2 separate regions of the Homo sapiens genome follow, and region 2 is linked to region 1. Evidence: promoter capture Hi-C in 16 types of primary human blood cells and fetal thymus (Javierre and others, 2016). All regions are on one chromosome and are shown on one strand. The core of a region is centred on a gene start or on the middle of the fragment in contact, and the rest is flanking DNA. Distances in the headings are between cores, read along the strand shown.

What was found. Contacts are between HindIII fragments. The CHiCAGO score rates a contact against its expected background, and 5 or more counts as called.
Region 2: a contact is called between a fragment that was not itself captured here and the fragment with the promoter of SLC25A2 in region 1, in 1 of 17 cell types (M1 macrophages). The highest score is 5.5, in M1 macrophages.

Annotation. Positions count from the first base shown.
Region 1 is chr5:141,302,199-141,305,726 of GRCh38, forward strand. It overlaps SLC25A2 (solute carrier family 25 member 2), which reads right to left and starts at 1,851. Exons shown (of 1, transcript NM_031947.4): 1 at 437-1,851. The coding sequence starts at 1,667. The coding sequence ends at 762. The HindIII fragment of the contact is 3,271 bases long and covers 1-2,338 here.
Region 2 is chr5:141,084,179-141,087,706 of GRCh38, forward strand. It overlaps PCDHB@. Among named protein-coding and RNA genes, the nearest start is that of PCDHB1-AS1, 7.9 kb to the left of the region's middle. The HindIII fragment of the contact is 515 bases long and covers 1,708-2,222 here.

The sequences.
Region 1 (3,528 bases), core at 601-3,100:
GCCGGGTGCGGTGTCTCATGCCTATAATCCCATCACTTTGGGAGGCTGAGCTGGGTGGATCACCTGAGGTCAGGAGTTCGAGACCAGCCTGGCTAACATGGTGAAACCCCATCCCTACTAAAAATACAAAAATTAGCTGGGCATGGTGGCGGGCACCTGTAATCCCAGCAACTCGGGAGGCTGAGGCAGGAGAATCGCTTGAACCAGGCAGGCAGAGGTTGCAGTGAGCCAAGATCATGCCACAGCACTCCAGCCTGGGCGACAGAGTGAGACTCTGTCTCCAAAAAAAAAGAAAAAAAGAGAGAGTGATCCTAAGTAATCATTCATACCTATCTTCACAAAATATGGTCAATTCTGGGTTTGGGGGGCTGATATTTGAGATTATATATAGAACTAAATTGTTTCACTCACGACATAGAATCATCCAAACTGCATGTACACACAAATGGCTTTATGCAAAGGCCCTGACAGAACGATATTTAGTTTTTCAGATTAGGTACATAGGGCCAACCAGCCCACCCTGTACATTCCAGCAAGTGCAAGAGCAGCAACTTTCCTATTTCAATACAATTATGGGCAGAAATTATATGATGTAAAATAGAGGCCCTTCCATAAAGTTAAGATTTAGGGTAGAAGAAGGGAAGATAAAACCAAAATTCCCATGAAGTCAAAATTAGACAGTGGTCTTGTACTCTGCTGAACCCTGTGATGAACTGTAGTCCTCAAACTCATGGACTCGGATCCAGGTTCACCAAGACACTTCAGTATGCTTCCAACTGTTTCATCATCATCTTCCTGCTGTATTCGTAGGCCACAAACAGTGCCCCATTGGCAGGGATTGCTCGAATCATAGTAGCTTTCAGTCCAGAATATAAGGCTACTATTCCTTCATTTCTCACAACACTTAAGAGGGTACCAATAAATCCTGCCTGTTTCCCATACATGGAAAGAACTTGAATTCTGGATTTAATACAATCCACTGGGAACACGACAAGCCACAGGCAAATTCCAGCAACTCCACCACTTAACATCAAATGGACAGGGCCTAGTTCATCTTTTGATCTCCCTGACGCAAAAAACGATCGGCTCAGTTCATAGCCACCAAAGAAAAAGAAATAACCCGGTACTTCTTGAAGTAGAGTACTCGAGAGTCCATGGTAGAAGCCCAAGGGGCCATCCTTTTTAAGGATACCCTTCACGACAGACCAAATTGTATTATGGCTTTTTGCTATCTTCCCTGACATCTCCATTTCATACATGGTCTGTAGCCGGCACTTCACAAGCTCAGTGGGGCAGAGAGCCAGTGCAGCAAATGCAGAGGCGAAGGACCCCGCGGCTGCAGTCTGGAGATCACTCAGCTTTGCCTGCTTGTCCATTCCAGCCACTTTCCTGACAAACTGCTGGCAGAACCCGTAGCACATGAAGAGGACCGAGTTTTCGGCGACGTAGGCCATAAGTGCCGGGCCGGTGCCCTTGTAGAAGCCCCGGAGACCCACTTGAGCGTATGTCTTCAGGAAGCAGTCGGTGAGGCCCTTGTACAGGTCAGGGAACGTCTGCATCTTCACTTTTATTGTGTCGAAGGGCTGCCCAGTCAGTACACACGCTGTCCCCCCTGCGGCCCCCGCTGTGAGGTCGATGGCGGCTTGGATGCCAGGACCGGACTTCATGTTCGCTCACTCGTCTGAGGGTCCCAGTGGAAGGCGACTAACTCCCCAGAGCGTGAGACCGGCTTTTCACGTCCAGCCGCAGCGAGCGCGGGGAATGGAGTTGGGGGTGGTGGGGTGGCTCTACCGCCTGTTCTGGGCTCTCACCCCAGTGCGGGGGAAGCCGCTCAACCCTACGCTCCGCCGCGGGCCGCCCCCTCCCCGCGCACTAAAATAACCCCCAGCTGCCGGCCCAGCGCGCGGCTCACTAGCGTTCCTGCGGCTCCTGGCGCACTGGCCGGGCCCCCAGCCGCCTCCAGCCTGGAGCCGCCATCCCTGCACCCGCAGGCGGGGGACGCGGACCGAATAAATACTTTTAGTGTACTGCGACTGGGCGCGGTGGCTCACTCCTGTATCCCAGCACTTTGGGAGGCCGAGGCGGGAGGATCGCTTGAGCCCAGGAGATCGAGACCAGCCTGGGCAATATGGCAAGACTCCATTTCTACAAAAACGAAAAAATACCCGGGCGCGATGGCGCGCGCCTGTGGTCCCAGCAATTCAGGAGAATGAAGCGAGGATCGCTTGAACCCGGGAGGTCGATGCTGCAGTGAGCTATGATCGCACACTGCACTCCAGGGTGGGCGAAAGGGTGAGGCTCTGTCTCAAAACAAAACCAAAACCAAGAAAACATGTAAAGCTTTTCGATAAATTCTTGCAATTATGGCCGGGAACTCTAGACGCCGCAGTTCAGCTGGCGGCAAAAGAAATGCTGTCCTAATCAGTCAGCCCTGCTTCTTTTCTTTTCTCTCTTTTTTTTTTTTTTGACTTAGGGTCTCACTCGGCCGCCTAAGCTGGAGTTCAGTGGCGCGATCCTGGCTCACTGCAGCCCCAATCTCCTGGCCTCAGGCGATCCTCTCACCTCAGCCTCCTGAGTAGCTGAGACTAGAGGGACTACAGGCGCAAGCCACCACATCTGGCTAAATTTTGTATTGTACAGACGGGGTTTCGCCATGTTGCCCAGGCTAGTCTCGAACTCCTGAACTCAAGCAATCCACCCACTGGCCTCCCAAAGTGTTGGGGCTTACAAGCATGAACCACCACACCCGGCCTATCCCACGCTTCTTACCATGCAAAAAACAAAAACAAACAACCCGAAAAGAAGATGCCCTCACTTGAATAGACCCTGAATTCAGAGGGTCAATCTACAAGAAAACTGCTTTAAAGTAGATAAGACAGGCCAGGTGTGGTGGCTCATGCCTGTAATCCCAACACTTGGAGAGGCTGCGGAGGGAGGCTCATTTGAGCCTAGGAGTTCAAGGCTAGCTTGGGCAGCAAAATGAGACACCCCTTACCCCCTACAAAAAATAAAGTAGAGAAGACAAACTGTCAGAGGCGCTGGAACCACAGCAACTCCATCTTGACTAGGGACTGAGTAAAATAAGGCCGAGACCTACTGGACTGCATTCCCAGGAAGACAGGCATTCTAAGTCACAGGATGAGATAGGAGGCCGGCACAAGATACGGGTCACAAAGACCTTGCTGATAAAACAGGTTTCAGTAAAGAAGCCAGCCAAATCCCACCAGAATCAAGATGGCATAATAAGTGACCTCTGGTCGTCCTTACTGCTCATTATACGCCAATTATAATGCATTAGCATGCTAAAAGACACGCCCACCAGCGCCGTGTCCACTTACAGATGCCATGGCAACAATAAGAAGTGACCCTATGTGGTCTAAAAAGGGGGAGGAATCCTCAGTTCCGGTAACTTTGGACCCCTTTCCCAGAAACCTCATGAATAATCCACCCCTTGTTTAGCTTACATTCAATAAAAAACTGTAAGTATCCTTAGTCAAGCCGCCCAGGCCACTGCTGTGCCTATGGAGT
Region 2 (3,528 bases), core at 715-3,214, 220 kb before region 1:
TGATAGTGCCTATGCAAATCACCGAGTCACCTTTTTAATATTCTAACCTCCTGCGGTGTAGGCACCAGACTTTACTCAACTTTATATCCCCAATGTCTTTTACAGTGCTTGAATATAATCTGTGTGTAAAAAATACCTGCGAAGAATTAATCAGTTCAATGAATTTATGGCCAAATGACTGGCTTGATTGAAATGAAAGAAATCCAATTCGGTTCCTCTCAAAGGAAATCTCACAGCTGATATTATGATAATAAACAACCATTGTTTTTGTTCACATTAAGTAAACTAAATATTGGAGAAGTAATTAAAACTCAAGAGGTGAGAATTCCGCCCCTAGATGTGAATATGAACAGATTTTGACAGTTTCCGCAGGAAAGCGCTGTACAGCCCAGGTTTTCAGTTCGGACGCCTGGTGGCACTACAGGCTAAAAAGTAGGAGGAGGAGGAGCCCTGCATTTGCCTGCAGACTCCATCTTAGAAAAGACAAAATCTGAAAGGTGCTGGGAACAGATACGAGTTGGAAAACGTCCGCAGCGAGCTCAGATTTTAGAGCTTTCTTCAAACGAATGGGGACTACACAAATGTTTGGAAGTCTTACAGGATTTCCGAAGACTTCATTTACTAAAGGCAATGCACTCAGAGGATATACAGGAAATTGTGCGAGAAAAAAATCTGGCAGAAAACGCAGGTGGTGGGTTTTCATTTTCTTCCCGGGTGTAGCGCAGGCGGCCCAGGAAAAGGAAAACTGCTTTTTTATGGTCAGGGTTTCTGGAGATTGGCGCTGGCGGCGGAAAGGGGAGCGGCGGGAGGACAGACTGGAGCAGGATAGTTTCCAAAGAGACCAAATAATATTTCAGATCGACCCACAGAAGAGTCCTTGCTCTCAAGTAGAAAATCGGACCTATAGGAGCCCTGCATTTCCAAGAATTACCTGTATTTAAAAAAAAAAAAAATTTGTCTTTTGAGAAAAATCTGTGTCTGAGGTGTAACCGTTTCCTCCTTTGAAAAATTCTTCTGAATGTTCCAGAATGTGCACCAGGAACATGTATGAGGTTTGGGTAAATTTTCCATCATTGGAAACTACACACTCATTTTCAATTTCCATGTTCACAATAATGTGCTGTGCAATATTGGGGTAAGTAATTTGTCCATACGCGTGAAAAAAATCGCTGGATGAACCACAGCCCAAGGTAAGTTTAACTCTCCCAGAGAAGAATGGTAGATATCTGAGACCTCCTAAGTCCAAGTCATGACAATCAATGACAATCTTTGAGATGCAGGTCTCACAGCAACCGGCTGAAGATTTAGTCTGAGTAAATAATTATGAATCGGCTCTCAGAATTCTCCAGGCTCACTGAATTCTGCAACCTCTGGAGAGCATTTTAAATGCTAGCAGAACATTTTAAATACCACTGATACCCCATGCATCATAAGCATCCACTGCAAGAGAATTACCAGGAAATTTCAGTGCCACGTGGCAAATACTCAGGCAATTACAAGCAGAAATAGTTTCAGAAATTGTTTCTTCATGTGAAGGACGGTGGAAGACCATGCCATTGGATGACAATCACATAGAATTGGTCATGTTGACACTTATCTGCCTCATCCTGGAGCACTTCTGGGAAGACTTCATCTGTTTAAGAACCATAATCTCAGCACCCTGAGATAAAACAACAACAACAACAAAAACAAAACAAAACAAGAAAAAGCTTTGATCCTTCCTACCAGAGTTTTCTTTTCATTGGATATTTAAAATATTCCATAATCTGACAACCTAATAATGCAAACCAGAAAAGAGAGCTACACGCAACATCACTGTATTTCCAATGAAATTAGGTTCCAGGAAGCTCAAAACAAGACAGTAGGTAGAGACAGCTATCATCCTTGGCGTTCTTCCTTTTGGATTCTGGATAAAAGGTAGAGGAATAACAGCACCGTTCTGAATGTTTTGGTTATTTTATGGCTCTAATTTCCATCGTGTTTTTTTTCTGAAGCATAGCTAATTGTTCATTAACAGTTAACAGATATTGATGGCTTAGCTATTTTTATCTTTTTATCTATTTCACAAAGGTCTATTTAGAATCTAGTAGTGTATTTCCTCTTTATTGTTAAGCACAGAAAAGGAACGCATTTTTTTCTGCTCATGCCTAGTTTCCTTTGATCTTTCTCAAAGGTAAATTACCCCTAAAACTTTGAGTAGACTGTCCTAGCAGATATTCTGAAGCTTGACAAGGAAATTCATCCCACTTCAATCCATAAAATGATAGTCTTCGTAACTTCTCAAAGAAGGTCAAGCTATTTATTTTAAAGTCATCTTTTGCTTTTCTTGATATTTCGTAAATGATGGCTGACAAGTTGTGATAGTCTACTTTTCAGCAGGACTGGTCTCCATTTACTTAGTTTAAGTAACTATTTACTTGATTACTATTATTAATATATGGTTTTAACTTTTTATTTGAAATAGTCATTTGATGATTTTGGTGATATTGATGACCACGAAATCAAATGGAGATATACAACTACAAGAAAAAAAACTGTAGAAATAAATGTCTTTTTCGTTATTTAAGACGTAAATCAACTGAGTTGCTGTGTAGCTTATTTATGTCAATGTTAAATTTGTGTTTGTTAATTTTTACTGTTTCCTTATTAAACATCAAAAATGATTAATTCTTTGGCAATTAATATCATAGCATATCCAGTACATTAAATGTCATGTAAAACAGACCGACAAAACAATCTTATCTTTTTTTTCTTTATGTCAGTGTTTAATACTCTCCTGTATGGCTTAGGAAAATTAAAGAAGATACAACAGAATATGCCTCAAATAAGACCTATTTGTTGATATTTAATATATTTATGATAGTTGCTGATAAAATGAAAACAGACATTATTCAATACACTGGATAATAATTACATAAATACAAAGTGTTTGGTGTTTTCATTTGCCTTTCTCAAATACTTTTTTTCTTTCTAGAGAGTTTAATGCACTGACGGGGGGTGGGGGGCGGTCCTATAATGGCACTGCAGGCTCAAATGGTGGTTAAAGCAGATTGCAAATACAGTGCTGTATGTTTCATATTATATTACCCTGTCTGTGAAAGTTGTATTGGATGTCTAAGATTCTGGTGGCATAAGTAATAGAAACATTAGGGTGATCAGAGTTTGTGTAGGACCATATTTGCTGGAAGGTGTTAGAAGAAGGAATAATGTAATACTTAAAGCCCAGTCTAAAACAAAGTGTGATTCTGTTTTACTAAGCATGTACCATTCAGGATACTGAACTGCAGAATTCTGTTCCAGAGGTGCTGGAGAGTGGTTCCTTCATTGCTAATTTTGCAGAGATTTTGGGCCTTAGGATGGGGAACTTGAGAGGTATGGGGAGCGAGAGGGTAATTCATGTTTCTATAGATTTAAAAAACTGCATTTTCAAATCAAAAGACTCAGGAGTGGGTACTAAATAGAAATTGGATCCATCTGTGAGTCTCAAAGCACCTTGGAAAAATGTAACTCATTTGAGTTACTCATTTG